Linked DNA regions of Homo sapiens: region 2 is linked to region 1. The links are contacts of gene promoters, found by promoter capture Hi-C in blood cells and fetal thymus (Javierre and others, 2016). All regions are on one chromosome and are shown on one strand. The core of a region is centred on a gene start or on the middle of the fragment in contact, and the rest is flanking DNA. Distances in the headings are between cores, read along the strand shown. Region 1 holds the start of CARTPT (CART prepropeptide). Region 2 overlaps LINC02198 (long intergenic non-protein coding RNA 2198).

What was found. The method cuts DNA at HindIII sites, captures the fragments that hold promoters and counts their contacts. A CHiCAGO score of 5 or more calls a contact.
Region 2: a fragment that was not itself captured here is called in contact with the fragment with the promoter of CARTPT in region 1 in 1 of 17 cell types (non-activated CD4 T cells); the score reaches 5.6 in non-activated CD4 T cells.

The regions. Positions count from the first base shown.
Region 1 is chr5:71,716,636-71,723,385 of GRCh38, reverse strand. It overlaps CARTPT (CART prepropeptide), which reads right to left and starts at 4,111. Exons shown (of 3, transcript NM_004291.4): 1 at 3,934-4,111; 2 at 3,423-3,506; 3 at 2,341-2,878. The coding sequence starts at 4,092. The coding sequence ends at 2,771. RefSeq lists an enhancer at 3,087-3,973. The HindIII fragment of the contact is 2,457 bases long and covers 2,502-4,958 here.
Region 2 is chr5:69,019,315-69,026,064 of GRCh38, reverse strand. The region is part of intron 1 of LINC02198 (long intergenic non-protein coding RNA 2198); the gene reads left to right. Among named protein-coding and RNA genes, the nearest start is that of LINC02198, 7.2 kb to the left of the region's middle. The HindIII fragment of the contact is 9,394 bases long and covers 1-6,750 here.

The DNA.
Region 1 (6,750 bases), core at 2,862-5,361:
CTGGGCCCCCAGACAAAATTTTTGGAAAAAAAAAAAAGCCTCTTCATACAGAGCCCACAGATTCCCCATTACCAATTTCCTATAGCCACTTGTCCATATCCCTTAGTCTCATCAAACAAGAAAGGAGGGATGACAGAGTAAAGGCAGGGGTGAGGGGAACAAGCTAAAAAGGTTTAGAGTCAAGTTTATATTCTTTTCTTTGAACTCCAGATTCCTCCAGCATCTCTTGCTTTTGGGGAAACACACCAGGCTAAAAGGGAAAGCAGTTCTGGCCAGGTGTGATGGCTCATACCTGTAATTTCAGTGCTTTGGAAGGCAGAGGCAGGATTGCCTGAGCCCAGGAGGTCAAGACCTAGCCTGGGCAATAAAGCAAGACCCCATCTCTCCAAAAATTAATTTTAAAAAATCAGCCAGGTGTGGTTGTGTGCATCTATAGTCCTAGCTACTTGGGAGGCTGAGGTGGGAGGTTTCCTTAAGCCCAGGAATTTGAGTCTGCAGTGAGCCAGGATGGCACCACTGCACTCCAGCCTAGGCAACAGAGTGAGACCTTGTCTCTAAAAAAAATAATAAGGAGAGAAAGCAGTTCTGTGTGTTAGCCCTGACGGTACTGCCTGTTCACTAAAGCAATTTCCTGATCTGACTTATTTAGGAGTGATAGATAGGAATAGTTAAGGGGCTCAAGAATATTCTAACTGAAATGATTTCTGGAAAAGTAGCAGACTGTGAAACTATTAAATAACTACTTGCACTTATTAAAAATTAAAACATATCCCATTCTGCCTGGGCGACGTGTGTCGCGCCTGTAATCCCAGCACTTTGGGAGGCCAAGGTGGGCAGATCGCTTAAGCCCAGGAGTTTGAGATCAGCCTGGACAACATGGCGAAGCTCCGTCTCTACTAAAAATACAAAAGTTAGCCAGGCATGGTGGTGCATGCTTGTGGTCCAAGCTACTTAGAAGCCTGAGGTGGGAGGATCACTTGAGCCTGGGAGATCGAAGCTGCAGTGAGCCGTAATTGTGCCACTGCACTTCAGCCTGGGTGACAGAGTGAGACCCTGTCTCAAAAAAAAAAAAAAAAAGAAAAGAAAAGAAAAGAAACAAACAAAAATACCACATTCTAATCACATATAGGCTTGTGTAGGGGAATTCAAACGGAAACACAGCCCCAAAAAATACACCTTGGCCCCCAGTGAGCAATTTTTATTAAGGAAAGATGTGCTTTCTGGGGAATTCAAAGCCCAGTCTGTTGATTGCCTAAGTGACATGGAGAAAAAGGACAAATCTTTGGAGTCAAAGGGATTACAGCTAAAATTATTATTTAGGATTATATGGTGTAAGCAAATTCCATAATTCTCTTGCCCTCTGTTTTCTACTCTGAAAAATAGTAATAATATCTATCTTGCAAGATTAGGCATGCTAATAATAATAATCACACTGAAAATGGTAACTGTGTATAAGAATATTTTCTATCAGAAAACTCCCTATGAATCCGTGGAGGGGCTTTATTTTTCAATTCTGCTATTATGCAAGTGCCTCTTGAGTTTGGATTAGGAAGCTGTTAACATTTATTTCTCTCATGATGCTGCTACTTAGATGTTACTTAGTCTGGTTTAAACCCTTGGAAATGTGACCTCAAATAAGCACTCAGAAATATTTAAAAGCTACTTAACTTTACATTTAATATGTTTTAATTTCTTGAGTTGAATTCTCACCTCCTCCAATTTTTATTTGTTCCCCTCAAAACTATTTTCTGAAATGACTCTTTCTCCTGGAATAGAGAATTTTTTCCAAGAGTGTGAATTTACTTGTGGGAATGAATGGGTCTTATAACCTTGGAGTCTTTAGACAAATAACAACCCTAAACAGCCCATATCTTTAAATCAATGTATATTTTCTAATAAGGGAGTTGTCAAAACAAAATTTCTAATTTTTCAAATTGCTTTTAATGTGACTAAAACATGAAACTGTTTATAGTTTATTGGTCTCACTGTTTAAAGTAAAGGGTCTGGCTAAAGGTTTTAATAAACAAAATTATATAACCTCAACTCCAACCATCTCCATCTCATTCATCTCTCTCTTTCTCTCTCTCTCTCTCACACACACACACACACACACATACACACACACATACACACACCACATCGCTGCAATCAAAGAAAAATAGAGTATACTAAAACTGGCTTGGCAAACTTCTAATTAACGATCAAAACTCCTTGGAGCTAAGGTGCCATTTTCCCAATAGGCTGCTATTTTTAAAATATTTTTCTTTGAAAACAACAGCATGATTAATCTCACCATTTCCACTTAAATTACTTATATGAAAACAGCAGTGCACTATGGGCAATTATTAAAAACACTTTATTATGTATAATTTGTACATGCTTCAATTTGTGTCACTTAGGGTGATTTATTTTCCAGGTTGTAATGACATCTACCGAGATTAGCTAGATCTAATTTTCATTCTGCCATGCCACATACAAAAATACAATTTTCAAACAAAGCTTCCCTTCTTTACACAAAGGTACACAAGAGTTTGTCAGACAAATAAAATAAGAATACTTCACACACGTATCAACACCATACAAGGCATTATTCTTCACACAGTAACATCTAATGTGTTCTTTTATTTTTGAAACAGCAGGAAAAGAGCCCTTTCCCTTCAGAGGAAAATAAAAACTTTATCTGTTGCTTAAGCCAAACTCCAGGGAGGAAGGTGTGGTCCTCTGGGGAAAGTAGAGGGATGGGGATGTATGGAGGAGAATGGACGCCCCTTCATAAGCACTTCAGGAGGAAGGAATTGCAGGAGGTTCCTCGGGGACAGTCACACAGCTTCCCGATCCTTGCCCCTTTCCTCACTGCACACTGCTCACCGGCGTCACACTGAAACAACAAAATGTGTGGTCATCGAGTATGAACAAACCCAGGTTCCCAACAGGCAAGTCTCACAGTCAACGCAATTTCTGTCTCTTGAAAGGGGCAATTGGACCCCATCACCATCACAAGAGGTCTACGTACAGTCAGATCTGAAACAGGGAGCCTTGTGCTTATAACCTCAGTGAGAGTACATTTTTTAAAGAAACTTACATTATTAGTTTTATCCTAGTTTCTTCCACCTTTAAGTGGCGAGGGTTGGGGGGCGTGGGAAGGGGAGCATCACATTTCCTGGCTCCTTTTCTTGCCCTCTCAGAGGGGAAAAAAATCAGACCTTTTTCCTGAGCAACAAACAATAGACTTACACTTTCTTACAACCCCTGTTCCTGCTTTCCCATTTCCTCACCCGGGAAGGAAGAAGGAGCCCACAGAATCCTGCAAGCCCATTACCTAAGTTATTTAGCCACATCCTACGGAGAAGACTGTGTGTACGATTCAAGGCGGTGTACTTTCTCTTGGAAAAACACGGGAAGGGAGTGACCACAAACCTTACCATGGGGACTTGGCCATACTTCTTCTCATAGATGGGAACACGTTTACTCTTGAGCTTCTTCAAGACTTCTTGCAGCGCTTCGATCTGCAACACACCGCTTCGGAGCCTGAAGTTGCCGCCTTGGCTGCGAGCCCAGCCCAGGTGCGCACTTCCAGCCCTAGTTATAAGGAGCCCCGGACCCACACGCACTCTGCGGTGGGACTCCGCGGACACAGGGAATGGTCGAGGGGTGGAAACTTAGCGGACGCTGTCCCAGGTACTGACCGCGGGTCTCTGAGCCGCTGGGGTCCCTGTTGCTCAGAGGGGCCGGGATGAGGGATTCGCTCAACAGACTGCCAGGAGCCCGTGAGCTCGAGACGCTCTTCGGATGGCAGTGGGTGCCTGGGCGTTGCGCTCAGCTCCCCGCGCCCTGACTCTGGGAATAGGAGTGGGGGTGGGGGGAGGAGGGAGGCGTGCAAGAGAAGAGACAAGGCGACAGCTCAAGGGGGTCGAGAGCGAGGGGAATACCGACCAGCTCCTTCTCGTGGGAGGCATCATCCACGGCAGAGTAGATGTCCAGGGCTCGGGGCTGGAGCTCGGCGTCCTCCTGGGCACGGGTACCCAACAGAGGTAGCATCAGCAGCAGGGCGGCGCCCAGGAGGGGCAGCAGCCTCACGCGGGAGCTCTCCATCGTTCTGAAACTCGTCGTTGCTGGGGCACCACGCGCTCCCACCTTTTATAGTGAGCCCGAGCCCCCGTGCAGGAAAGAGGGAGGAGGCGAAGAAGGAAGGGGGTGTGGAGGAGGGCCCGGGTCAACCGTCTGTAGGCAGCGCTCCGCCGGCGCTTGACGTCAATGCCCGCCGGGTTCCAGGCGCCTGGGAACGAGGCTCTGCGCACAGATGGGCTAGAGCGCAGAGAACAGGACCCTGCGCCCCCAAAGGCTGTCAGTCTCACGGCAAGGGATGCTCCCCGAGGGGCCTGAGCTGAAGCCGAGGGGCTAGAGGTGAGGGACGGGAAGCGGGAGGGGCCTAGGAAATGGAAAATGCCTTCGGGTCAATGCACAGGCAGGAGAGTCGTTTCCCAACACCTAGCAGTGGTGACAGCTGCAACATCCACCTCGCCAGCCCTGCCTTGCCTCGCACCCCAACCCCAAGTGTGGCGGTGAGAAGGGGGTGTTGCCTCCAGACAGCCACATTTGCTGAGCACCTTACTCTGTGGGGTAGGGGAAGCAAACATACTATACAAAAGAAAGAGAAATAGTGGCCCTCCACGTGATGGGTTCTATGATGGAATCTGTGTGACAATAGTTAAAAGAAGAGAGGGAAAACAGACAAACCCGGATTCAGCAGTGGTGTTGGAAGTGCAGAGAGCCAGGCTCTGGTTCCCATCCTGGCTACACCACGTAAAAGTTGTATGACTTTGAACAAAATGAAGAACCTCTCCAAGCCTCAGCTTTCTCTTTTGTAGATCTAGGATTAAAAAGATATACCTCACAAAGTCATCAGTAGGATGAAATGAGAGATTAAGTATGTCAAACTCCTGGTTCTTAGCTAAGCTTCCCTGTCCCTCCTTTTTGAACTTTGAGGCTGCCCAGGCAAATTTAACCATCCCCAGAACCTCCCCCCACCCACCACCAACCCTTGGTATCCAAGAAGCCTGTCTAGAAAGAGAGTAAAAGAGTGAAAAGAAAGACAGCTCCATGATTATGAAAATATCTCCAGAGATCAGAAGTCAATGGTGAACCAGCTCCCCAACAACTTGGGAGAACAATGTGGCTTTTTTAAAAGTTGAGATCCTTACAGCCTGAATGCACAGGAAAATTCCTGTAGGAAAAGCAATGCTTTCCCGCTTAGACCTGCTTGCTCACCTGGCTTCCTTCACCACACCATCTTTCCCTCAACTGTTCCTAAATTCATCCACTCTTCTCCATCCCCATTACTACAACCCAGTCCTAGACAGCTGCCCCAGTCAACTTAATGTCTACCACTTAATCCCCACCCTATCTTCTCTTGCCTTCCTCTACTCCATAGTTCACCACCAACCAGAGTATTTTTCCCCTTAAAATACACTAATGACTCCTAATCTTACTAAGCACTGAATCTAGATTCCTCATCCTGACTTGCAAAGCATTATATGATCTTCACCCCTCTCCACCTCATGTTCTACCACTCTGCCCCAGACTCCTCCACTCCAACCTCACATGGCCTTCTTTCTGGTCCTCTAGCAGGCCAATCTCATTCATACTTTGATGTCTTTGCACTTACCCCTCCTTGAAAGGTCTTCCTGTATTTCCAAAAGGCTCACTACTTCTGTTATTTAAATCTCAGTGTAAATATCTATGACTACTCAATCCAAACCATCTATCAATACTTTTCTCCCACAAATTTATTGCATAGCAGATTATGTGGGTCATTAAGATAGTTTAATACACAATATATGCCTGGTTACTTCAACTATCAAGTATTTAATTGGTACTCAAATACTCACTGGGAAGCAATTCAAGAAGTGATATCTCTTCTAATGAATAGCACACATATTAACAGCATCAAAATATTTTGCTGTGGGGTAAACCCAACTTGAAAATGTATCTAACACCTCCCTCAGCTCTGCCTTCCACACATACCTTTTGATTCTGCACAAGAAAACTTCAGTGGCAGCACGTTTTACTGTTAAAACCTTACAGAGACATATTGACACTCACTGCAAAAACCATCTCCAGTGATCTTTAAACTATTCTAAGCTTCAGAAGAAAAATAATCTCAAATAAGATTTTAGCCTATTCTTCCTGAAGGATGTAGATATTGTCAATGCAATACTTTCTCTCCAATTTTGTTCTACCCAGACACAAGTAATAACTTTCCCTTTGTGCTACTTCTATTGGAAAAAAATCCAAAGTTTAAATCTTGCTGAACTTGAGTTGGTGCTATCATTTTCTTATAAGGAAGGCACATTTAGTTAAGGGGTTAGGGAAAGGACTCTTGGAAAATCCTGTGAAACAAGCCAGGGGCATCTTTGTCACTTACATACCACAGGCTTTTCTTCATCTTGAACAGAATGACTTTATAAACTGTCTTTAGCTAGCATGGTATAGTAAATTCTAGGCTATCTTCTTCCCAAAGACAACTTTTATGTAAGTTAAAACTCAAAAAGAAACAAAAGCATGAGACATTCCACAGTCTTCATATTATGCCCTGTTAGGAGAATTTGTATATTCTTACTACTTTGTAATGACTCCATTAGGGGAAAAAAGCCCATCACTGATGCCCCAAGCAATTAAAATCATATGGAATTTAACTACTACTTCTCACCCCAGATATAGAAAAGGGAGGCAGGTCACCTCATGAAAGAG
Region 2 (6,750 bases), core at 1,757-4,256, 2.7 Mb after region 1:
TTGTAATACCTTAGGCCTGGCCACATTTGTCTGGGACAAATAATAAATAAATTACAAATAAATATTTCACATTTGTGAAGTATCCAAATTGCACAGGGCCCACCTTCTCCCACCCACTCCTCCCACTCTAGACTCATGAACACTGTAGAAATTGGTCCATGGCATTTGCACAGAATGTCACCCATGGCTGAGTTGTACTTTGTCTTAGACCAATAGAAAGTTATGCTTGTTTTTCCTTCTCAGGGACTTGTTGGTTTTGTAGGAAGGGTCTGTAAACCCATGAGTCAATAAGATACCCTTGCTTTAGATCTTCACCTACTTAACAGTCTAGCCACTGATATGACGTGGTAGCAGTCTATATCAGCCTGCTGACAGAGGGTTCATGTTGGGGGATGTATTTTATATTTTAATTCGCATATTTTCCTGAGCACGCATTTCTTCTGACCTATGCCTGAGCAGCCTCTCAAACCAGCATGGAAGCATTATGTTTTGCCATCGAGTGCTGGGGGCTCCAACTAAAGTTGTGTGACCATCTTTGGGTGCCTCCTGCTTCAAACACATGTCTTCTTCAGACTTCGCTTGGCTTCTCAGCCATCTGAAGTCCTCTACAGACTCTGATGATATCAGAAGATGAGAAATTAGGATTAGTCTCATTTTTTGGGAGCTCCCATTCAAATACAGCAGAGGTACAATGAGATGGAGACATAGCTCAATATTGCAGCTCTGTAGTTCTTGCCACTCCAATTTAAAAAGCTGTAGGCTGGGCGCGGTAGCTCACACCTGTAATCCCAGCACTTTGGGAGGCCAAGGCGGGCAGATTACAAGGTCAGGAGATCAACCATCCTGGCTAACACGGTGAAACCCCGTCTCTACTAAAAATACAAAAAATTAGCTGGGCGTGGTGGCGGGTGCCTGTAGTCCCAGCTACTCGGGAGGCTGAGGCAGGAGAATGGTGTGAACCTGGGAGGCGGAGCTTGCAGTGAGCCGAGATCGCGCCACTGCACTCCAGCCTGGGCGACAGAGCGAGAATCCGTCTCAAAAAAAACCAAAAAAACCCCCCCAAAAACAAAAAAAACTGTAAAGAGAGTCCTTGGACTCCCCTGATCTGTGATTCTAGAGAACTGTGTTGCTCAAAGCAGGAGATAGACCCTTCCATGTGGGGTGTTGTTATGGTGGCACTTACTTTCTTCCTCTTTGTATCTTTATCTTATCTGAGGTGCATGCAGATGACTGGAATTGAGGAAGGCAGTTTTTAAGGCTCCTGGGTAAGCATGAATCCAGTGGTATTTGCTGATCAGTGTATTCATCTAGTTCCACATTGAGGATTTCTTCTCCATTGAAGGAAGCAACGCTTCATTAGGCCTATTTAGCTCCTATGATGCCTCTTTCACTTCATCCCTTTCTCCAGTGTCCAACTTCAGTTTCCTCTCCTCCTTCAGTCTCCTCTCCTCTCCTTCATGAAGGCTTCCTTGACCACCAAAGCCCATTGAAATTTTGTCATCTCAGTGATGTTCACTGACTTAGCTTTATTGAGCACCCGTGTTGTGCCAGGTGCTGGGCGGAGAATGTGAATCGACAAAGATGAGCAACAAGTTCCAACTCTTGAACTATATGCAGGAATAGTCATAGCCCTTTTTATCTTTGCAATTGAATGCAGTCTGTTAAACAGCTCTAGGGAGGCACCGTTCATGTGGTTTTCTTTGTGAATGGTGCCCCCTAGAGTTGGACAACTCAAAGGGCATGCTGAGGGTGAAACTTGAAGGGCGATTTGTTAGTCAACTTCAAGGGTTGATTGAATGTTAATCACATATTGCCATGCATTTTTTTTTGCAATCTAATTATAAACTTTTTGAGGGTAAGGGTTATATTTTGATAGTTTTTGTATCTTTATGCATAGGGTTTAGCATGCTGTTTTTTCCTTTAATCAAAATTCAGGAAATACTTAATTGAGTTATTGAAATAGCTTTCTTGGTGAGATTATCAAATTAACTTGTACACTGTTTCGGGAGCAGCTGGATACCAGTTTCTTATCCATCACTGTGAGGGCGTGGAGGGGAGAATGGAGAATCAATTTTTATAAAGCTCTCCAGGCGATTCTCTTCAGACCATTTAGAAAATGTTGTCCCAAGATTTCAGCATATGAATATCAGGAAGCAGATTGACATAAAACTCTTCAATGTGCCACAAACAGCCAAGAAAGTGATGTTAAATTTAGGGTCCACTAGAAATCTCCATAGAATGGAATAAAACTATAAAAATTAAAAGAGAACATAATTAACAAGAATTAAGGGAAGGAGAAAGACTGGTGAAATCATGATGTTTCAGTTACCAATGCTGCATAACACACCATAAAAAACCAAAGCTGGCCAGATGCAGTGGCTCACACCTGTAATCCCAGCACTTTGGGAGGCCGATGTGGGCGGATTACCTGAGGTTGGGAGTTTGAGACCAGCCTGATCAACATGGAGAAACCTCATCTCTACTAAAAATACAAAATTAGCCAGGTGTGGTGGCACATGCCTGTAATCCCAGCTACTCGGGAGGCTGAGGCAGGAGAATCGCTTGAACCCAGGAGGCAGAGGTTGCAGTGAGCCGAGATCACACCATTGCACTCCAGCCTGGGCAACAAGAGCAAAACTCCATCTCAAACAAACAAACAAACACAACCAAAATGGAGTGGCTCAAAGCAACTATCATGCATTATTTCTCATGATTATGTGAGTTGACTGGGCTAAGCTCGGTGGTTTCTCTGCTCCATGTGGTGGAGCTGTGGTCATTCATGCAGCTGTATTCAGCTGGGAGCTTGGCTGGAGCTGGAACATCCAAGATGGCCTCATATTGTGCAGAGCTTTCTGCCTGTGATATCTTATCCAGTAGTCTAGCCTCAACTTCTTCTTCTCTTTTTTCTGGAAAAAAAAAAGAATATATTTATTGATGAGACAAACATGAAGGGATTATTTATTACTTTTGGGCAGCTGGACTGAGGGAGACCAGCCAGCACTGGCTCACAGTGGGAACCAAATAGTGGGGCCAAGATGGGTGAAATTTTCTGATGCACCCACATTCACTCCTGGAATCATCCAGGAATTCACCTATGGCATCTCCAGACACAGAAACACTCTTCTCATGGATGCCATAAGCTCTGAGAATTGGCAAAAACCTTAGATGTCATCCAAAAATCTATATGTGTCCTTGAGACCTCTTTCCTTCATTCTTCACTTCTGATCCACCATCAAGTCATGCTGATCTGTCTCCAAAATATCTTCCAAATCTGTGCATTTTTACCAAGGCCACTGTCACCACCCTGGTTATGGTCACCAACATTGTATACCTCCAGTTGGCTTCCCTGTTTTATTTGATCAGCTCTTCTTGAGACCACACACATGCATTTTCCATGTGCAAATCAAATGATGCCACACCCCTGCTTGGAGCTCCAGGAATTTCTCTTGCACCCAGAGTAAAATCCCAGCTCCTGAACAGGGGTATTAATTTCTAGGGCTGCCTTAACAAACAAAACACCACAAACTGGATGGCTTAAAATGACAGACATTGATTCTTTCACAGTTATGGTGGCCAGAAGTCTGAAATCAAGGAGTCAACAGAGCTGTGCTCCCTCCAAAGGCTCTGGAGGAGAATTGGTTCATGCCTGTCTCCCAGCTTTTGGTGGTGGCCAGCAGTCCTTGGCATTCCTTGGTTTGCAGCTGTGTCACTCTCATCTCTGCCTCTGTCACTATGTGACATTTTTGCTGTGCATCTCTGTTTTCACATGACTTTCCTTTTCTCATAAGGATGCCAGTCAAACTGGATTAGGTCCCACCCTAGTGACCTCATCTTAACTTGATTCCATCTGCAAAGAGCCTATTTCCAAATAAGCTCACAGTTATAGGTACCAGAGGTTAGGACTTCAACATATCTTTTTGGGTAGCGCCAGCTTCATTACAGCATGACAGCTGGCTTCTAAGAAGAGGAAGCAGAATTTGCAATTCTCTTAAGGTCTGGGTTTAGAAGTCTCAGAATTCCATTCCTTTCCCTCCCCTCCCCTCCCCTCCCCTCCCCTCCCCTCCCCTCCCCTTCGCTTCCCTTGACAGGGTCTGGCTCTGTTGCCCAGGCTGGAGTGCAGTGGTGCAATCTTGGCTCACTGCAACCTCCGCCTCCTGGGCTCAAGCCATCCTCCCACCTCAGCCTCCCAAGGAACTGGGACCACAGGCATATGCCACCACACCCGGCTAATTTCTTTAAATTTTTTTGTGGAGACGAGGTTTTGTCATGTTGCCCAGGCTGGTCTCAAACTTCTGAGCTCAAGCTATCTGCCTGCCTCAGCCTCCCAAAGTACTGGGATTACAGATATGAGCCACCATGCCCCACCAGCTGGTGCTACATCCTTTTGGACAAGACAAGTGATAGGGCCAGCCCAGATTCTAGGGGAGGAGAAATAGACTCCACCTCTCAATCTGTATACAGAGAGGGGAAGAATTGTTGGAGGCCATATTTGATTAGTATCTACCACACATTTTCATAGCCACATCTGACACACAGTAAGAAGTGGCTATACTTTTGGGCCATCTAAATTTAAGCCAAAAACCAAACCAAAACAAACAAACAAACAAACAAAAAAACTGCTACAGGATCCATGTAACGGAATGCTATTCAGTAACAAAAAGGAGCAAAATACTGATACATGTGATAACATGGATGCTCAACCTCAAAAACATCATGCTAAGTGAGAGAAGCCAGACAGAAAACCCACATATTGTAGGATTCCATTTGTGTGAAAAGTCCAAAAAAGCAAATCTAAAAGAGAAAAAGTTGATTAGTAGTTGCTTGGGGTTGGAGGAAGGAATGAGGATTAATTGTAAATGGGCATTGAGAGATCTTACTAGCGTAATAAAAATAAAAACTGGAAAAAATAAAAAATATAACTAGACGATGTGGATGGTTACACAAGTGAGTAAATTTATTAAAAAATCATTGAATTATACATGTAGAAGGAGTGAATCTTATGGCATACATTTATTTTTATGGCATAAAAATATATATTTATGACGTATCTATTTCAGTAAAGTTATTAAGAAAATACGGGATGGTGGCTTTTAATTCAAAAGACATGCTCCTAAAGATCTTGCCTAATTCAAACCTTGCACAATTTCAAGTTAATTTTCCCATAGAAATAGAAGTAAAGTAGAAGGGATGTGTCTTCAAAGTGCAAAGCCCCACACCTATTGTGGTCTATTTTTGCCTTTGTTTTCTCAGCCTTACATCATTTACACAGTGCTCCCTCTTAATTTAACAACAGAGCATATCAAGGTTGATATCTGGCCTTCCTCATAACTTTTTATCACATCTAACTTCCAGTCCACAGCTATTGATTTTCCAGCACGTTTTTCAGCAGTAGGGCCATCACTTACATGAGCTGTTGGATGACACTGTTATAGACTATTCAAAAGACTTTAATTCTTAACTACTGTGAAATTTAAAATAAGACCCTGATGGCCACTAAGACCATTGGCCGAAGTGTGGTTGTGCCTGCACAACAGTGCTTGTTGATTAACGATGGCAGGTATTTCTGTAACCCGTTAAAGTGACACTTTCCAATGCAGTAACAAAAACACAGCTTACAAACTTCTCAGCCTGCCCCCTTGAAATTTTGCAAATTTTGACAAATTTCCACATTTAAGGAGATTCATATGTTTTAAATTTTGGTCACAAAGTGAAACTTTATTATTATTACTTTGTGTATTGCACTATTTGAAATAATGCAAATTCACAGGAGTGGCAAATGTACTACATTGCAGAGTCGGTGATGGGGAGAACTTGCCAGCCTAGTTCTCCCTGCCTCCCCCATGTTATTGAGATGGAAAAACTTCCAACATTCAGCATGTGCAGTCCAGATGGCTCAGAAGCCCTTTGTATTTGCATCTATTCAATTTGTAAGGAGTTTGTGTTCCATGAATTTGCATTAGGTTTCAGGTTAGACTCAATAATCCTAAATACCAAGTGAAATTGTGCCTGATCCATTCAGCCTCTGGAGCTTGTCAGAAACTCCAAAATTGGCTTGAATTTTCTTCAAGGATTTATGAATCTGGGCTGAATTTGAGGTTCGTAAAGTGATCCAGCCAGAGTTGCTTAGTCTGGGATTTCAGAACACGTGTTTCACACATTTCTCTCTACACATCAAGCAAGTTGTCATCGTCTGCTGGATTTGTGTCCTGCTCTCCCTAAATGACCTCGCTACCCATTTTAGATCCTCATGTCTTCCTTGGTGTTATGGGTTCAGCTGTGTCCCTCCCAGATTCATATACTGAAGTCCTAACTCCCAGTACCTCAGAATATGACCTTATTTGGAGACAGGATCTTTACAGAGCCAATCAAGTTAAAACGAGGTCATTAAAGTGGGCCCTAATCCAATATGACTGGTGTCCTTATAATCAAGGGAAATTTGTACATAGATAGGCACACAGGGAGGACATCAGGTAAACATTAAGGCAGAGATCAGAGTGATGTGTCTACTAGCCAAAGAATGCCAAAAATGGTCACAAATCACTAGAAGAAGAGAAGGCAGGAAACAGATTCTTCCTCACAGCCTTCAGAAGTTACCAACCCTGTTAACCTTGATCTTGAACTTATAAACTTCAGAACTGTGAGCAACTAATTTCTGTGTGTAAGCATTCAGTTTGTGGTACTTTGTTAGGCAGCCCTAGCAAACTAATACAGTTGATAAAATAAGAAGAAAGACAAATAGCATGTGTTTTG